Linked DNA regions of Homo sapiens: regions 1 and 2 are each linked to region 3. Evidence: promoter capture Hi-C in 16 types of primary human blood cells and fetal thymus (Javierre and others, 2016). All regions are on one chromosome and are shown on one strand. The core of a region is centred on a gene start or on the middle of the fragment in contact, and the rest is flanking DNA. Distances in the headings are between cores, read along the strand shown.

Region 1 (3,566 bases), core at 248-2,747, 120 kb before region 3:
GACATTATTGACACTAGAGTCATAAAATGCATCTCCAAGATGGGGAAGTCAGTTCAAGAAAGAGTATCTGTATCACGAGTTTTCTCTTTACATTTCCAACTCCTTGGCTCTAGGGGTGTTGCCGCTACCCCTCATCTTCTAGGTTCAGGTGCTCAGCTCCTGTTTGTAGCCCCAGGACAAGACGTTACCTGGGAGATCTTTAGAAATGCAGAATCTCTCCCTATCCCACAACAGAATTGCACCTGCATAACCAGTGCCCCAGGTAGATCTGGCTGAGAAGCTATGATGAAGGGCAAGGTTTGCCAAATGTTCATGGGGACAAGTTCTCCAGCGACACTGGTTTAAAATAGGAATTCCGAAAAGGTCTGATTAATGAGTTTGGGGTGGAACCCAGGAAACTGGGCATTTATTTAAAACAATCTCTCCTGTGATTCTTAGAAAGTAAATTTATAATGGGGAGGGGTCAAAGATAAGCATCTGAAAACAATTTTCACGCAATGTGGAGCTTTGAGACAGCGTTAGTCTTCAGGTTCTTTTGTTGAATGGAATTTGTGGCATCTGGGAGTGGAGCAGAGACCACTTCCCAAACTCCTGTTCTTATTTTTTTAAATTCCAGCAATTCAGAAGGAATTAAAGTAAAAGACGTAAGTTCTCTGGTTGCTGATATCTGGTACCTGAGATCAAGGCAAGATCGCTTAAACCAGTAAAGTGAGGATTATGGGAGCAAACTCAGGAATAAAGAGGGTGAACCAGGCCTGGAAGGGGACACAGGTTTGGCGACCAGACGGGTCACCGCTTGGCCCGGCCTAATCCAACTGCGCACGTCGGTGGGCCACAGCATCGCAGCGCTGGATCCCCGGGTCGGCAGAGGCGGATGGAGTTCAGCCTCTTTTTCAAAACTGCCAAAGCCACCCGGTCTGCCAAACTCCCCCACCAGCCAGCTCTGGGGCAGCCCCCCGGAGCCCGCCCGCTCCGGTCCCCGGGACAAGGGCGCAATTGACCAGCGCGGGCCGCCTCTGGCCCACCCAGATGACGGCCAACTTTTTTTGTTTTTAAGCCATCAAATTCAATATTTACAGGAAAAACCCCATGCTTGGTTCTAAAACTACTGGCCACTCAAGAAACAGTTTACTTCTCACTTCTGCCCATAACAAGAAAAACATAGACTTGTGCCTTACTCTTAAAAAAATAATAATAATAAATATAGGTTTTTTAAAATTTATATATAATTTTTAAAACCCCGTTTGTTGCATGTGGTCCCTTTCCCTCCTGTTGTTGAGCAGAATAAAAGCCCATTTTGCCAGGGCCCGCAGTCCTGGCGGCCCCCGCAGCTGCGGCCCTGTAACTTTAAACCTGGCCTGAGATCATCGTTTTGGCGCCGGCCAAACAGAGCCCGAGGGCGGGCCTAGCGCGCCCGGACGGAGACCACCTTGCGGCCGACCCCGCTCCCCCGCCTCCTCGGGAGAGATAAATGCTGACTCCGCTCGGAAAGTTCTCAACTGCAAAGTTTGCTGTCCGGCTGCCTAGGGTCTGGGAAGCTCGGGCACCCTCCCTCTCCGGGGCTCCTGCTCCCACCCCTCCGGCCCCCCCACCGTCGCGCTCCTCCAGGCTGGGCCTGTGGCCGCGGTGCTTTTTAATTTTCCCCCAGCTCAGAATCTTGCTGCTCGGCCCCCAGGAGAGCAACAACTCAACGGGAACGATGTGGAAGGTGTCAGCTCTGCTCTTCGTTTTGGGAAGCGCGTCGCTCTGGGTCCTGGCAGAAGGAGGTAAGACCCAGCGCAAGTGGCTTCCTGCCGTCGCTGATGGGGACGAGCGAGCAGAGACTTGCTGGAATGCCCGGGCCTGGTATTCGAGGTTGTCCAGGGGAGCGCGGGGGAGCTGAGGGTGTGTGCGTGTCAGGCGGCTGAGCGCCGGAGGAGGAGAGGCAGCGGCTTAGTCGGTGCCAGGTCCCAAAGACGCAGCTGCGCGGGTGTGCCGGGAGGAGCCCCGGAATCCACAGGCTGCGAGGTGGGCAGCACAGGGGGCCTCCCTCCGAGTCGGCAGCACCAGAGAGATCGGGTGGAAGGTTCACAGTAGGCAGCCCCGCTTGCTGGCAGCAGTGGCTGGGGTTTCCTTCCCATAGAGCGGTGTGTTGGAGGAATACGCACGCCTCGGGAGAAGCTGGCCTCGTAGAATCAGGAGGGACGTTCAGGAGGGCTTGGGCCAAGGGGAGGGTTCCCCGCCCTGCGGTGGCCCTGGTCCCCCTTGGGACTACCTAGTCTGGCGCCCTGCCTGTTGGACACACTCAGCACCCCGTCACTGGACTGGAAGAGGCCTCCTTTATCCTCTTTAGAGAGGATAGTGTGTGTGGAAAGGATCCAAGTGGAGGCTTCCGAGGAGTGTGAGTGCATGAGGATTGTTACGCGTTACGAACATTGAGGTTTAAGTGGGTTTGAGCCACGTGTTCATCTTGGGCAACAACATCAGTGGCTGAATGTCTGTTGGTGACTCCTTAGGCTTTAAATATTTTGTATCCCATGTTGGGGTGGGGGCGTCCACAGCTTCCATTACCCTTTGTCCTCTCCTGGAGCCTTACCTCTTCCCGCTGGGTTGCTGTGTTGGTGGTCTCCATTGACATCTGTCAACATTTTGTTTTCTTTTCTTGGGTTTTTATTTTTATATTTCCTCAATAGAACATATGTTCTGCAGGACGCAGCTACATCCAGCCATGATTCCCCACGGCCAAAACAATGCCTGGCACATAGTAGTTGCTCACTAAATGTTGGTTGAAGGAATTGTAACCTAACTCGTGATCTTTGGGGCTGGAGGTTGCTGAGTTATGCTGTGAAAAGTAAACATTTTCCAAAAATTGAGGATCAAGGTAGGCCTAGGCCCTGAGGAATACTTCTTGGAGAGGGAGCGGTTTGCAGGAGGGGTGCGCCTAACCTGGCCTCCTACAATGGTCCACACAGACAAAAATACCCAATCTCAGGGAAATGACAGAGTTCTGCTCTATGCTGTGCTGTCTGCTTCAAAGGGACTGAGCAACTCTTTTTATAGGGGCCGTGGGTTATTCGTAGCAGTCCTATCTTTGGAACTTCTCTTTCCACTGGAATATATACAGTTCTGTATTTTCAGTTACATTTCCTTTTTGGCGAGACAATGTGCAAATGACACCGTTTTGTGCTCACCAGGGCAAAGCAAGGGAGCGCCCTCACTTCAGCATCTCAGCCCTGCTAAAGAAAAAGCTGCTGGGTAACATCCTTTGTTTTTGCCCAGGGAAGCTTTAGCTGTGATTCCCTTCAGCCGGCTCCTGAATGTCAAAGGTACTCCTAAAAGATGGCGTTAAAACCGAAAAACCATCGTTGGTGCTGGAAACTCCACTACTAAAGAAAGAAGTGGTATGCGGGGCTGGCTGAGTGAGGGTGGGTGCTGAGTTGCCTGGCTGCCAGAGGAGCAGAGGCCCAGCAGGGTTTTTGTCTGAGAATAATGAGCGAGGCGACTTGAATATGGATGAATAACATCATTGAGCGAAGCTATTGTGGGCTTTTGTTGGGGAGCTGGGCTGGGGGGTAATTATGGTGATG
Region 2 (3,321 bases), core at 775-3,274, 110 kb after region 3:
TCATTTTGCTGCTTCTGATTGGCTGTGGACTTGTAAGCCATCGGCCGTATTCGTTTGAATTGTGTGTACAGTAAGAACAGCGTGCACTGAACGTGAAAGCTTGAGTTCTTTTTTCTTTTCTTTTTTTTTTGTTTTGAGATGGAGTCTCACTCTGTCACCCAGGCTGGAGTGCAGTGGCACGATCTCGGCTCACTGAAAGCTCTGCCTCTGGGGTTCACACCATTCTCCTGCCTCAGCCTCCCAAGTAGCTGGGACTACAGGCGCCCGCCACCACACCCGGCTAATTTTTTGTATTTTTAGTAGAGACGGGGTTTCACTGTGTTAGCAAGGATGGTCTCGATCTCTTGACCTCGTGATCCGCCCGCCTCGGCCTCCCAAAGCACTGGGATTACAGGCGTGAGCCACCGCACCTGGCTGAAAGCTTGAGTTCTGTGTGACTTTGTGCTCCTTAGGGACAGGCTGCAGGCCCAGGCATGAATTTTAGTGCCTGCATGCAGTGAGCTTCTGTCAGAGTTTACAGATCTGGGCCAGGCGTGGTGGCTCATGCTTATAATCCCAGCACTTTGGGAGGCCGAGGTGGGTGGATCACCTGAGGTGAGGAGTTGAGACCAGCCTGGCCAACATGGTGAAACCCCGTCTCTACTAAAAATACAAAAATTAGCCGGGCATGGTGGCAGGTGCCTGTAGTCCCAGGTACTCAGGAGGCTGAGGCGGGAGAATCGCTTGAACCTGGGAGGTGGAGATTGCAGTGAGCCAAGAAAGCACGACTGCACTCCAGCCTGAGCGACAGAGTGAGACTCTGTCTCAAAAGAAAAAAAAAGAGTTTACAGATCAGTGGGCACTGGTTGTGGATGGCTCAGACTTTCTACAACGTTCTAGGCTGTTCTCTGGATTGTGAAGGTTAAGGGGCCTCTGGATAAGTGAGGCAATGGCTCGTTAACGCTTACTTGCACAGTGACCATGCCATCACCATAACCCACAGGAAGCATCCTGTGACACTGTGCTCGCCCCCTGCTGGCTGATGGGGCATCCCCTTGTAACTGGAGGCAGTGCTGGGAGCGCACAGGCTGTCCTTGTGCCAGAGACTCTGGGCTCTGCCATCCCTGGACAGGGGCCGGGCCTGGGGAGGGTGTGTGGTCCTGAGACCATGTTTCCTCCACCTGCAAACCAGGGGCATCCCTCATGGCTGCCTCCACCCACCCACCCAATATTTCCTGTACCAGGTCCTGTGCCTGGGGACACAGGGGATTCCACTGTCAGCAAGACTCAGTCCCTGCCCTCAAAGACATCCTCTTCTAGTGTTGAAGGAGTAAGCAACTCGACAGGCAAGGTGATTGCTGTGGGAAAAGCTGTGAGCAAAAGGCCCAGAAAGTCACAGAAAGACAGAAGGAAGACAGAAGGGAACTCCAAAGGCTATGGGAACAGGGCTGGGGTTGCCACTAAGGTGGGGAGGTCAGAGAAGGCCTCTTTCAGGAGACACTTAAGCTGAGACCCACAAGGTGGGAGGGAGCTGTGGGCAGAGGAGGGCAGGGCAGGGGAAAGCCAGGCAGGGAGCAACCAGGTAAGAAGAGCTTGGCCTGGCTGAGAGACAAGTGCACAGGGTGAACACAGAGTGCGTGAGGGGACTGGGAGGGTCGCAAGCAGGTGCACAGCACTCTGTGTGGGAAGGCTTGGGCCACTTTTGCACTGGGCAGTGATGTGGTCCAGTGTCGTGGTCATGTCCGGTGGTCCTTATAAAGGCCTCTCTTGTTGCTTAGTGGAGAATGGATTGGTGGTGGGGGGGAGGGTGCAGCGTCGAAGTGGGGACAGTGCAGTGGCAATTGCCACAGTCCCCGTGGAAGGTGTTGATGCCACAGGTTGTGCTGGGTGGTGGCAATGGGAGTGGAGAGAGGTGTGTGGACCTGGAGGCAGAATTAAGGGACCCGGAGATGGATCAGCTTTAGGGTAAGCACAGCGGGGGGTCTCACAGGCCCCATGATCACAGCACACTGCTCGATGGTGTGCCTGCTTCAAATGTGTGTGGTTTCTAGGTCTATGGCCAATCCGAAGCAGCAAAATGAATAGAAGAGGAAGAAAAGGGCTATTGGGCTTTAGTTGTAACAACAACACGTTTGGCAGTGCCATTTCCTGAGAAGAGTGACAAGAGTCCAGTGTGGCTGGAGCCTGGTAGGGGCGGGAGCAAGGTGGGACCCTAGCATGTCCCACTTTGCCGTGTTAAAGTGAGATGCTCATTAGACATCCAAGTGGAGGGGCCCGGCAGGCAGTGGGTGTGCGGGTCTGGAGCCCTGCCCAGGAGTTTGAGCCAAAAGTCTGACCGAAGTGTTGACACAGAAGTCTTACCTGACATTCAGTCTTTAAGGACCAGTCAGGACCCTGGCTCACCTCCTGCTCCGATGCTTCCTGGGGTCACACCCACTAGGAGCATCTCACATGTGCTGGATTCTTCCCAGAAAGCAAAGTGCTCTCAATCCTGGTCACCAAAATGCTTCCAGCCCTGCTCTCTGTTGGCAGGCTGGCAGGGACTGTCTCCATTTTACAGAGGGGGAAACCGAGGCTCCGAGGCCGAGCGACAGGGAGTGGCTTACCCTGGGCCATACAGTCAATGAGAATGAGGATTATTAGAGGCCACCCCCAGGTCTCCAGCGGCCATACTGCATCCTCCTGGGGTGATGACTTCTCCATATGAGTCCACCAACCGCAACTGCTGCAGTCACGACACTGTGCTGATACCTACTGGAGTGCCAGGATGCCCTGCACGGAGACCTTTCTCCAAAGTTAATCATTACTGTAACCCCAAACTGGTCTTCCCGATTTGCAGAAGATCAACCTGGAACTCAGACAGGTCCATGACTCACTGAGGTCACACAGCTAGTGGGTGGGAACCAAGAATCATGAGGCTCTGCGCTAACTGCTACTGTGCCCTGGAGAAGCACCCAATTCCGGAGCCTTGGTCCTCGGTATTTAACATCTCGGGGTTGGGGGCACTGTGCTCTCATGAGTTCTTTGACAGTGAAGCACTTCTTGATCAGGAAGGACAGTCCCCCACGACATCCTGTCCCCGTCCTAACAGGAAACACCCAATTAGTGACCTGGTGTTTCTTCAAAATGGTGGCCTAAGGAGCTGAAAGCCCAGGGCTCTGCTCGCCTGGGAAAGTCTCCATATCCGTCTGAGCCTCAGTTTTCTCATCCGTGAAAGGGGTATAAAAGCACTTGTTCTTCCTACCTCCTGGGCTGCTGGGAGGGTTCAGAGAGAAAACTGAGAAAGTCCTTGGGAGTCATGGAGGCCATGTTCATGTTGGCTGCCGTGGTCCTCCATTAGGC
Region 3 (3,396 bases), core at 29-2,528:
TGGGATTACAGGCTGAGCCACCGCGCCCGGCCTAGCCTCATTCTTTTACAATAAGATAACATGATATATGTTGATACAACACGTTTTCTTTCTTTTTTGAGATGGAGTCTGTCTCTGTCGCCCAGGCTGGCGAGCAGTGGGGCGATCTTGGCTCACTGCAAGCTCCGTCTCCTGGGTTCACGCCATTCTCCTGCCTCAGCCTCCGGAGTAGCTGGGACTACAGGCACCCGCCACGTCGGCCGGCTAAATTTTTGTAGTTTTAGTAGAGACGGGGTTTCACCGTGTTAGCCAGGATGGTCTCGATCTCCTGACCTCGTGATCCACCTGCCTTGGCCTCCCAAAGTGCTGGGATTACAGGCGTGAGCCACTGCGCCCGGCCAACACGTTTTCTTAAGATTAAACCTGTTACATAAATGATCGTTCATAATTTTTGGAAGCACACCTGCCCTTAGTATCCTGTTTTTCCACTGGGTGCTTTCTGCAGATGGCCAACGTAGCCATCACATTCGGATTCTTCCTGACTTCATTCTCAGAGGATTACTTTATCTTGAAGTGCTGAAGGCTCCAGGCACCATCTATAACGACAACTCCCAACTTTCCAGCTCATCTCCAGCCTGTGCTTCTCCCCGACTCAACTCATTTTCAACCACGTGCTAGGCCTCCACCCTTGGATGTCGAAGAGCCATCTCCAGTTCCACCCAGTTCATCTTCATCAGAACATCTATGAGTCGTCGTCTCTGCAGTCCATTTGTTTGCCCGCTTGGGAACAGCAAGCTCCTTAAGGGCAGGACTACTACCGCGCTCTCAGAGGCGCTGCACTGGAACATCGCGGGCACAGGGCAGCGTTGGTCACTGCTCCTGGGTACTAGGGCAGCAAATAAACCCAGCAGCTGCGTCTGTCTGCCTGGAGTTGGATCTTTTTGGTATAGATCCAAACGTAGAAGTATAAGGTCTACGTTTATGTACTTGTCAGATATTTAATGACCTCCAACGATAGACATGCCCCCCCAACACCTCCTTCAGTCTTTTTGATTCTTTGAGAATCTTTGAACCACGCAGGATCCTAGCCCTAGGGTGCGGTCGGACTTGCCGCGACGCCAGCCGCCGGGGTTCCTTCCCGAGGCGCCGCCATGGGATCCGCGGTGACCTACGAGGGGCGGCTGGGTGGTGGCCATTGGGCGACGGCGCAGGGTCAAGGGCCGGGCTCTGGGATCGTGGGGAGACCGGGGGTCCCGGAGCCCCCCAGCCCCGCAGGCCACTGCCTCGCCGCCCGACGTCACTTCCGACTGGAGTCAAGATGGCGGCGGCGCGGCCGCGGGCGCCGGGGCCGGCGAAACAGCGGCGGCGGCGGCGGCCCTCGGTGCTCTGAGGCGCTGGCGCGGCGGGCGCGGGTAAGGAGTGGCGCGGGTGGGCGGCCTCTGGGCTCGCGCCGGGACGCTGGTCCCTCCCCCCGAGGAGCGCGGCGGCGACGGCGGCGGCGACACGCTGGGGACCCGGCGCCGCAGGGATGGCCGGGTCGGCGGACGCGCCCCCTCAGAGGTCCCGGGCGTGCCGGGGGCCCCGGGACGAGGCGCGGGCCTCCGGGTCGGTGGCCCCGCGGGTGGGTGGCGGCGCCGGGCTCCTCCTTGTCGGCCGTGGGGTCCCTGCGGCGAAGTTCGGGATTCGGTTTGTCGCCGTGAAGAGCCGCGCGCCCCGCGGGGGACGCGTGCGGGCTGCAGAGACTGGCCGGGTGCGGGCGGCGGTGGGGCCACCTGGGGCCCCACGTGGGGCCGGGCGCCGTCCCAATTGTCAAGCCGCTGTGCTTTTCTCTTTTGTGTTCCCACTGAGTGTGTCTTGCACATTTGCACTCCAAATTTGTTTTGTGTCTTGCGTCTTTGTGTTTCCCAAATAGTTTTTGTGTGGTTTTAACCTGGAGATTGTCTCCCTCAATGTTCCCATAGACCCACGGGTGTATGTGTGTGTGTGCGCACGCGCGCGTGTGTGTGTGTTACAGACGTGCAACTCTGTTACTAATTTTGCTAATAAAGCTATCAATGAACCTCTTTTGATGGTGGTAAGTGAGACATGAAGTAAACCTAACAGGTCAGTGTCATTCCCCAAACCTTCGTGGTTCTTTCGATCCACGCGTGAGCCACCGACCCTCCGGGCTTGTAGCTTTGTGTCGGGCTGTGAGCTGCGGCAAAGACCCCATAGTTAACCGGGAAGTCCTGATTTCCTTAACTACGCAGCTGAAATTTCCCCTAACAGAAATTTCGTGCTGGCCCCTCACTTTTCTTTTAGTGTTGTATTGAGATTTTGGGTGTATTTGAGACGTGGAACGTCTTTTGCTGAATCCCAGTAGGTCCTTAGATCCCTTTAACCAGACACTAGAAGAATCATTTTTACCCCAGAACTCGACTAAAATGTTTAAGTTTTTGTTTACTCCAGGTTTATTAAAAGTGACCGAAACTTTTAACAACAAATGGAACTCTTCAATGATTTCTTTTACAATGGTACACACTTCGCCTCGGTTTGATCAGTTGTGTCCAAGTATTAGAAAAATGTAGGCCTTTTAAAAAAAAACATGATAGGAAATTTACATATATTAAGGAGGAGGAACTGAGACACACTGTCATACGTTCTTTTTTAGTAGGGTTCTGTGTTTTTGAGATGGTCCAAACTGCCCCATCACTCTTGAGGCTTCCGGACTAACACTTATTGGCCAAATTTTTACATGTAGAATCTTAGTTTAGCCTTGAGATGACCTTTAAAGATCATTTTTATTAAACCCCCTCATTTCGAGCTATGGAAACAAATCAAAATTCACAGTGGAACTAAAACTCATTTACATTTTCTGTGATTCCAGGGCTCTTTTTACTCAACACATCTGTTTTGGTTTGATTGAAATAAGTTAATACATTTTAAGTGCTTAGAAAAGTGCCAGAACATGATAATACTGCTCAGTAAATGTTTGCTTTTGTTGATTCTGAAGGTGGTTTCTTTAATTGAAAGGTTGGTATGTTCAGGTTTGTTTTTTCCTTATTTTGTGGACAGGGCCTGAAACAGTACAGTTTAAATCTGTAAGAATGTATTAATTTTGTAAGTACAAAACATAACAAAAGATTCTCACTGTAGAAAATTGGAAAGTAGAGAAAAGCACAAAGAAGAAACAGAAATTGGGCATAACCTTCCCCTCTTCAGATAACCATTGTTAACGTTTGGCAGATCTTCCTGTCTCTCTTGGTGTGGATATGCGTATTTCTTTCCTTATTTTACAGTTCATTCACATATATATATATTTATTTACATTTTATACAGGATTGATAATATAGTGTGTATATTGTTTGCAACCTGTCTTGCCTTATGATACGGTGAGCATGTATCCATGCCACTAACTAGTCAATATTATGTTTAATG

What was found. Contacts are between HindIII fragments. The CHiCAGO score rates a contact against its expected background, and 5 or more counts as called.
Region 1: a contact is called between the fragment with the promoter of PDPN here and the fragment with the promoter of PRDM2 in region 3, in 3 of 17 cell types (naive B cells, total B cells and monocytes). The highest score is 6.5, in naive B cells.
Region 2: a contact is called between a fragment that was not itself captured here and the fragment with the promoter of PRDM2 in region 3, in 3 of 17 cell types (total CD4 T cells, activated CD4 T cells and total CD8 T cells). The highest score is 6.9, in total CD4 T cells.

What each region holds. Positions count from the first base shown.
Region 1 is chr1:13,582,335-13,585,900 of GRCh38, forward strand. It overlaps PDPN (podoplanin), which reads left to right and starts at 1,498. Exons shown (of 6, transcript NM_006474.5): 1 at 1,498-1,766. The coding sequence starts at 1,700. RefSeq lists an enhancer at 1,401-1,939. The HindIII fragment of the contact is 6,524 bases long and covers 1-3,261 here.
Region 2 is chr1:13,810,378-13,813,698 of GRCh38, forward strand. All of the region lies in intron 8 of PRDM2 (PR/SET domain 2), which reads left to right. Among named protein-coding and RNA genes, the nearest start is that of PRDM2, 110 kb to the left of the region's middle. RefSeq lists a silencer at 1,002-1,051. The HindIII fragment of the contact is 3,211 bases long and covers 420-3,321 here.
Region 3 is chr1:13,698,910-13,702,305 of GRCh38, forward strand. It overlaps PRDM2 (PR/SET domain 2), which reads left to right and starts at 1,279. Exons shown (of 10, transcript NM_001393986.1): 1 at 1,279-1,391. RefSeq lists a silencer at 1,032-1,801. The HindIII fragment of the contact is 13,472 bases long and covers 1-3,396 here.